Linked DNA regions of Homo sapiens: regions 1 and 2 are each linked to region 3. Evidence: promoter capture Hi-C in 16 types of primary human blood cells and fetal thymus (Javierre and others, 2016). All regions are on one chromosome and are shown on one strand. Each heading gives the region's core, a stretch centred on a gene start or on the middle of the fragment in contact. The rest is flanking DNA. Distances are from core to core; before and after follow the strand shown.

Region 1 (2,700 bases), core at 104-2,603, 220 kb after region 3:
GTGGTCCTTCCAGCCACTTCTAGGGACACTGGGGAACCTTGTTAAACGTTGACATCAGTGCTCTCCAGCCGTGCTGTCACCCTCCTATCTTCTGGATCTGCCTTCGCGATGGTCAGTGACAGCTTCTGGAAGCTGAGCACACACAGGTGCACAGCCATGCTGTGGTCTGGCCTGCTACGGCAGCATGGCAGCTCTGGTGGAGCCTTCTCCCTTGCCATTTGGTTCCCCTGTGCCAAGTAGCTGCAGGCTGCCCCTCAAATCTTCATTTGTCCCTTTTCACTTCCTGCAGAACAAGCCTGGGTTAGAGGGTCTGCTGGAAATGGCCTTTGAAGACCAAGGATACCAGGATGTGTGCACTCTGTCGTGTTCTGTGATGAATGGGAAACGTAGGCTTCCAGAAAGCCAGCTCTCTTCTGAAATGTGACGGACCTAAGCAGGAAGTCATCCAGGACAGGAGTGGCTCAGTGTTGGGGATGGACGCTGTCGCCCAGCCATGCTCCACCAGGGCCACCAATGTGTAGTTGGCTGGTGGTCTTCGGGCATGTGAGACCTGCTCTTCACTGTTTCCACCCCACTTGGTGGCCTCCAGGATGGTAGTGGCACCCTCAGAGCCCCATCTTCAGCATGTTCTGAAGCCTCAGAGTGGAAATTCCTGCTAAGGCTCTGTGTGGACGCCTTTCTCCCGTGATCTAAAGGGGACACTGTACTCAAGCTTTTGACCTCATGCCTTGTGTAGTAAAAAAGGATTTGGGGGTTTTGTTTGGTTCCTGAGAGGGTTGTGTTTTGTTTTTGTTTCCTTTTGTTTATGTTTTGGCCTTTCCTCTTTGTCTTTCCATGTAGACCAGATATTTGAAAGGGCAGACGATGGCTAGAGGTGTAATGTGCAGCTTGTTTATACGGTATTTTGGGAAACTTACCTTGGATGGGAAATCGAATCGTGGATTCACCAGGCCGGTGCTGGCACACTCACCCTCGCCCTTTCCCTCCGGTTCAGTACCTATTGTTTCTCCTTTCAAATATGTGATTGTACTAGCTCTTTCCATATGAAAGAATTCTCCTTATTTAAATAAAAAAAGTTTAAAAAGATAAAGCTGAACGTGCTTTCTCAGGTTGTACATCCCTCGTTTCTTGGTCATTTGACCAGAGAGACCTACAGATCAAAGAATTCTAATTTTACAGAGTTCACACGGAAATTAGGAGTGGCACGGCTGAAATGCCTTAACAGAAGCTGTGTGGGTAGAGAAGGGATTGAAACCCGTGGCTAAGAAGCATCTTCCAAATGCGGCAGCATCAAGCACTCCACCCTCTTCCCACGGATGGCATCTGGTTGTGCACAGTGCCTGCCTGTGGCCCCGTCACTTGCCGTGAGAAACGAGCTGGTCAGAGGAGGTAAGCATTTGATGTGGCGTGTTGTGTTGTCACTTCTAGCGGTGCTTTTGCAGGAAGTGGAGGAGGATTATGCTGTGCTTTGGGGTGGGGAGGGAGCAAGCCAGGCCTGGGGTAGCGAAGGGTAAAAGGTAAGAATGGGCTGAGGCAGCAGTTCTCGGTTTTGCCATTGCCTCACTGACCTGGGGAAAGACGTTTCACCACCTGAGTCAGTCTCCTTAATCATAAAACACAGATTGTAATGGTATCGACCTCATGGCGTAGTGTGGATTCAAAGTCACCAGTAGCTTTTAGCTTAGTGCCTAGAACCAGCTAAGAAAACTTATAAATTACCCCCAAGAAATAAAACGCTGTTTCCATGAGGAACCCCAGTCCCTCAACTTCCTTCTAAGCCTTTTGACTATGGAAGAGAGTTGGGGACCTGGCCATGGGCATCTCAGCTTTAACTAGCCACACTCACTGCCCTGATTTACTGCTCCCTAGGGACAGGTGGCTCACAAAATCTCAAACGGAGACCAGCCCTGAAAGAGGCTAGTCCTAAGGTTGGGGGCTTGCAAGATGGAGGCTGTAAGTCCTGAGGCACCACCACTGTTAGCATGGCATGAACCAAAGCTTAACAGCCCAGCCCCACTCCCTCCTGGGGCCCAGGGAACCCTCCCTGCCCACTGTAAATACAGTTGCCTGCAGGCTCTGGCCACAAACCCAGGTGAGCCCCAGCTCCTTGCCTCTCTGTGGGATCTTGGGTGAGTCACATAACCCCTCAAGGGTAAGCCATAAAGAAGTAACCACGAAATTCTAACTGGTGTCATCTAATGCTATGTTGCCCAACATGGAAAAAAAGTCTTGCAGGCAGCCAAGAACCATAATGAAGGTTATTAAACCTGCAGTGTGCCCTTTTGGTCTGTATAGATTAACATACAAATAGACCAGGAGATCAAGAAGGAGCGAGGCTGAGAAGAGTGATCCATCAGCCTGGTTGCGTTGCTGTCAGTTACCCTGCTCTGGGTGCCGACTGTTCAGGGAAAACATGGGAAGGGGTGCATTGACCCAACCAAAAGTACCATGTCTGCTCCAAAGCAGGCCTTTGGGAAGGCTCTTGACCCTCAGCAGAGGGGGCTGGAGAGGCTGATGGATGAGGAGGAGCCCTGGGAATGGAGGAAGAAGCCTCCAGTCTTCTGCCACGGAGTTTAGGGGAGATGCCCCCACTGGAGCCTCTGATGGTCATGCAGCCCCCACTGATGTCCAGGTTTTTTTGGTTTTGTTTTTTGTTTTGAGACGGTCTCACTTTGTAGTCCAGGCTGGAGTGCAGTGGTG
Region 2 (2,700 bases), core at 176-2,675, 150 kb before region 3:
GGAACTTAGAGTCCAATAGGAAAGTGAGACCCAGACAATGACAATGAGATAAATGTTAGGAAGGGGGAGGTATGGGGTGACTTCCCTGCAGTCCTGGGGGCCTAGATGGGCCCAAGACTGGGTGAGAGTCTTGGCAGAGCCTTTGCAACACCTTAAGTGGACAGGACTGGGAGGTCTTGGTGGTTGGAGCCAACGTGGGTTCCCTGCGGCTCCTTAGTCACCTCTGATAGCAGATTGAGGGAGGAAAACAGGTAAGGCATGAGGAAATGGCCAGGTTGGGTTAACCCACTGGTTTCAACCAGTTCAGGAATGAGGTTATTTGGCCATGACTGGCTGATCTTGAGCTCAAGGATCTGCTTCAAATGCACACAGGCCTAGTTGAAGTTTAAACCCCAGCAAAACATTCCTCCCTGTAAATGGAAAATCCTACTTCTACCCCCACCCTGCCCTGTTTTTTGTTTTTTTTTTCCCCAAGATCATTAGATGTCCTCACCCCTCCTCACTGCCTCTCCTCTCTGGGACAGGCTGGGACCTTTGAGGAAGATAAAGCCTTCCTTCACTACCCATCATATTCAGTGTCCCTGTTCCTCACTCAGAGAGGAAGGCAGAACCAGTCAGGCTTATTTCAGTAAGTTCCACAGTTCTACAAGACTGCAGGAATTCTCCTTAAGGGAGGAGAGCAAGCAGGTGTGGCCCCAGCTTCTGGAAATGGCAGAAGAGAGGGTTTTCTCATTGAATGGGGGTGGGGGCTCGTGTGTCCTGGGAAACCCCATCAGTCCCTTCATTTCTTGAGACTCAACTCCTGGGAGGAGAGGGTCTCAAGAGTTGTCCCTGGAAGGAGGGCGGGGGCAGTCTGCATCTATTTCAGGTTGTGGCTCTTGGTTCTAGGACTCTTACTTCTCTGGCTAAGGGCTCAGCTTCTTGGGACTTCAACCATCTTCTTTCTGAAAGACCAAATCTAATGTAACCAGTAACGTGAGGACTGCCAAGTATGGCTTTGTCCCTATGACTCAGAGGAGGGTTTGTCGGGCAAATTCAGGTGGATGAAGTATGTGTGTGCGTGTGCATGGGAGTGTGCGTGGACTGGGATATCATCTCTACAGCCTGCAAATAAACCAGACAAACTTACCAACGTCTTGATTGGTGTATTTTGGGGCTGGTTCTGGGCTCAGCAAATTGCGAACTAGCTAATATAGTAAGAGATTAAATGAGCATGTCCTGTGCCTTTTGTCTGAGACAGCTGAAATTCACTTATCCTAACCACCTCCCTGCAAGAGACAGGTTCTATTATGTCATCCTTGTTTCACAACTGAAAAGTAGGCTTGAATAAGCAATGTGCTGCAAGCCAAACAGTAAATGGCACAATCCGACCCCCCTGGAGCCAACCCATGAGGTCCAAGTTAAGAACCTCTGTCGGCCGGGCGCGGTGGCTCACGCCTGTAATCCCAGCACTTTGGGAGGCTGAGGTGGGCGGATCACGAGGTCAGGAGATGGAGACCATCCTGGCTAACACGGTGAAACCCCGTCTCTACTAAAAATACAAAAAATTAGCCGGGCGTGGTGGCGGCCGCCTGTAGTCCCAGCTACTTGGGAAGCTGAGGCAGGAGAATGCTGTGAACCCGGGAGGCAGAGCTTGCAGTGAGCCGAGATCGCGCCACTGCACTCCAGCATGAGTGACAGAGTGAGACTCCGTCTCAAAAAAAAAAAAGAACCTCTGTCCTAGAGCATTTATAATTCACTACAGAAATGTATTCTATGAAGGACTTTAATACCATCAGTCAGCCTTATCCAGACGATCTCAATTCTAATCCTGTCACCACCACTTTCTGACTGAGGGCTATTGGAGAATTTTCTCAACTTCTCTGTGCCTCCCTTACCTCATCAATTATTATTATGTATGTGTATGTGTGTGTGTGTATATATATATATATGTGTGTGTGTGTATATATATATGTGTGTGTGTGTGTGTATATATATATATATATATATATTTTTTTTTTTTTTTTTTTTTTTTTCTGAGACAGAGTCTCACTCTGTCACCCAGGCTGGAGTGCAGTGGCACAATCTTAGCTCACTGCAACCTCCACCTTTTGTGTTCATGCGATTCTCCTGCCTCAGCCTCCTGTATAGCTGGGAACACAGGCGTCCGCCACCACACCCGGCTAATTGTTGTATTTTTAGCAGAGACGGGGTTTCACCATGTTGGCCAGGCTGGTCTCGAGCTCCTGACCTCAGGTGTTCCACCCACCTCGGCCTCCCAAAGTACTGTGGTTACAGGCGTGAGCCACTGCTCCCAGCCTATTTTTATTTACTTTTTTTTTTTTTTTTTTTTTGAGACGGAGTCTCGCTCTTTCGCCCAGGCCAGACTGCAGTGGCGCTGTCTCTGCTCACTGCAACCTCCGCCTCCCGGGTTCACGCCATTCTCCTGCCTCAGCCTCCCGAGTAGCTGGGACTACAGGTGCCCGCCACCGCGCCCGGCTAATTTTTTGTATTTTTAGTAGAGTCGGGGTTTCACCGTGTTAGCCAGGATGGTCTCCATCTCCTGACCTCGTGATCCGCCCGCCTCGGCCTCGCAAAGTGCTGGGATTACAGGCGTGAGCCACCGCGCCCGGCCTTTTATTTACTTTTTGAGACAGGGCCTGGCTCTGTCACCCAGGCTGGAGTGCAATGGTGCAATCACAGCTCCCTGTAGCCTCAACC
Region 3 (2,700 bases), core at 119-2,618:
CTCTGGAGACCGGGCTTTGGGGCTGCAGAGGAGAGGCTCCTCTTTGCTGTTCCTGTTAGGGCCTCGCCAGAGGGACACTGGACTTGTCTGCATAAAGCGGTCTTCTGCCTTGGAGACAGAAAGCGATACACTGTGAAGAAATCGGGCTTCTAAAACTAACTGTGCTCTCAAACACAGTGCCGTTTGGAACGGGGAAGCACTCCCCCAGCTCCTGGCATACACTGGTAAAAGCCAGAAAGATAATTGAGGCCCAATCGCAAAGCCCTGAACACACCGGTCTGGGAGTTGCAGAGTGCCTGAATGTCTGCCATGGGCCCGCACAGGGCCAGAGGCCTGGAGGGCAGCCCTGCAGCCTCTCTGGTGACCCCTGATGGCACAGACACTCCTCAGGCGGACGGCACACTTGCTCTGCCAGGAAACACTGGGAGTAATGTCTCTCTGCTTTCTCGGCATCTTGCAGGGAAGGACACAGGAACCCGGGGGGAACAGTGGCAGGGTAGATTGCAGGACCGTGACTCCAATCTGGATCCACAGGCAAACTTTTCAGGGAGCCACCGGGCCAATGAGGCCACCTGCATACCTGCCTAAAGCTTCCCTCTGGCCTCCGTCCTGTCTTCATGGTATCTCCACCTTCCCCCTATCCGCGGCCCCCCACCAGGCCTCCAAGCTCGGCCATCCCTAGCAGTTCCCAGAGCTGGCTCTCGGCCGTACTCACATGCCCTGCTCGCCGTACTGGTTGTAGAACTCCATGTGGCTGCACGCCTGGATCCAGCCAACTACCCAAGTCTCCTTCTTGGGGATGGGCGGCATGACCACCTGGGCCGAGGCCCGGAAGTGGGGTGTCCGGTAGCGGAGCACCACGCTGGAGGACTCATCGATGCTAGTGGGGACGGGGTCGATGGAGGCTTTCACATCAATCACCGTGATCCCTTCCCGGAAGACTCTGGCTTTGCCTCCGATGCTCTGAATACAGCCCATGGCATACAGGAGCGCTCTGATCTCCAGGGAAGGCCAGCAGTCACAGAAAAAACCAGGCATTGAAAGGACAGAGGCTGCAGGACCCAGTACAGACGGCGCTGCTCTCCAATCTCAACTCTCAAGACCGATATCCATAGGATAGAAAACTCACTGAGTAGACTGGGGTTGCATATATCACTACCGCGGCCTGTTTATAAATAAGGATTCTGCTGCATTTCATGAGCCCTGGGCTCTCTCTTCTTCTCCTCGCAGTGGACAAAAATCACCGATATTCTTTGGGTTAAAAAAAGTTTGTAGTTTAATGAATAATTATGCGGTTCTGACATCCAGCCCTTCTGTGCCTCACACGCGGGGACGGCAGCTCGCAGACTCTCCCTGAAGTCTTCGGAGGAAGCAGGCGAGCGCCGGCAGACTCATAAATAAGGAAGGCTCTGTCCCCGCGCGGCCGCGCCACCCTCGCGGCAGAAGCCTGACTTCCTGCCCTCCGGCCTTCCGCACGCGCTCCCTCCGGGCCCCGCACCCGCACCCGCCCGGCGCGGTCGAATCAATTGCAGAGCAGTTTGTGTTCACCCGGCCGAGGTCCCGGCGCCCTCGGGGCGAGCGCCGACCCGCGGCTTCCAGGAGGCGAGCTCAGGGCTCCGGCCGCTCGCCGGTGACGGGGGAGCGCGGCGCGGGTCCCCGTCGGCGCCCACTCGCGGGCGCGGGCCGGACGTCCCCACGCAGGGGCGCCGCGTCCCTTCGCCGCTGTCGCTGCCGGCCGCCGTGCAGGGTCCCGGGGCTGCGCTCCGGCCGCCGCCGCCTGCTTCGCCGCGGCCGCCGAGGACCTGGTGGGAGGTGGAAGGGACAGCGCGTCAAGGCCAGCCTCAAAGTTAAGCCGAACTTTGCTGCGGGGGGCGCGCGGGGGCGGCGACGCGTGTGCGCTGGGCGCGGGCTGCGGAGCTGACGGCGCAGCTCTGGGCGGTCTCCCCGGAGGCGGTGGCCCCCGCCCCCCGCGCCCGCCCCGTCAGTGGCGGCCGCACGACCGCGCGCACCAGCGAATAATAGCCGCCCGTGACATCTCCGCTGATACCGTCCCGGACGGGCGGGGTGGGGGGCGAGCGGCTGCCGCTGCAGGGGGCGGCGAGCACTTGCCCTGCTCTGTCCCCACCGCCGCGCCGCCAGCGCCAGGTGCCCCTTCCCCACCCCGGTCCCTCCGGCTCCCTGGGCGCAGGGCCACCCACCAGTGCCGTCGGATCCGGCGGGCACCCCTTTCCCGGCTGGGGTCCCTCGGCCCTCGGAGGGCATAGTGCCCCCGCTCCGCCGCGTCAAGCGCCTCTGTCGCCCCTCTCCAGCCGCGAGCAGCCCCGGGTCCCCACGCGTCGGGCGCGCTCGCCGCTGCCGGGGAACTTTGGCGCGCACGCCCCCACTCGGGCGGCGCCGCCGACTCACCTGCCCCGGGGGCCACTCCGCTGGCCCGGGCAGCCGCTCTCCGGACGCCCCTGACCCGGCCGCGGGCACGTTCTTGGGGCGCCCCCACCCCCTTCCCCGGGCACTGTCCCTTGGCTCTACTGGAGTCTGGGGCCGGCGTGGGCGCCCCCGGCCCCCACCCTCCTCCCGGCTTGGGGCTTCGGGGGGGCGGCCGGGGGCGGAGGGCTGAGGCTCGGGGCTCTCTCGCCCCCACCCCGCGCGCCTCCTTTATTTTATGATCATTGTGAGCGCGCTGTCGCCGCTCAGCCCCGCCGC

The links. The method cuts DNA at HindIII sites, captures the fragments that hold promoters and counts their contacts. A CHiCAGO score of 5 or more calls a contact.
Region 1: a fragment that was not itself captured here is called in contact with the fragment with the promoter of FAM78A in region 3 in 2 of 17 cell types (naive CD4 T cells and non-activated CD4 T cells); the score reaches 5.9 in naive CD4 T cells.
Region 2: a fragment that was not itself captured here is called in contact with the fragment with the promoter of FAM78A in region 3 in 4 of 17 cell types (erythroblasts, megakaryocytes, fetal thymus and 1 more); the score reaches 9.7 in erythroblasts.

What each region holds. Positions count from the first base shown.
Region 1 is chr9:131,499,108-131,501,807 of GRCh38, forward strand. PRRC2B (proline rich coiled-coil 2B) reads left to right here. Exons shown (of 32, transcript NM_013318.4): 32 at 1-1,086. It also overlaps the pseudogene LOC124902290. Among named protein-coding and RNA genes, the nearest start is that of POMT1, 2.5 kb to the right of the region's middle. RefSeq lists an enhancer at 909-2,108. The HindIII fragment of the contact is 1,286 bases long and covers 711-1,996 here.
Region 2 is chr9:131,122,017-131,124,716 of GRCh38, forward strand. AIF1L (allograft inflammatory factor 1 like) reads left to right here. Exons shown (of 6, transcript NM_031426.4): 6 at 1-1,128. Among named protein-coding and RNA genes, the nearest start is that of NUP214, 2.2 kb to the right of the region's middle. The HindIII fragment of the contact is 4,223 bases long and covers 1-2,700 here.
Region 3 is chr9:131,275,142-131,277,841 of GRCh38, forward strand. It overlaps FAM78A (family with sequence similarity 78 member A), which reads right to left and starts at 1,369. Exons shown (of 2, transcript NM_033387.4): 1 at 716-1,369. The coding sequence starts at 1,038. RefSeq lists enhancers at 49-98, 84-696, 109-158, 189-238, 399-898 and a silencer at 1,539-2,700. The HindIII fragment of the contact is 5,571 bases long and covers 589-2,700 here.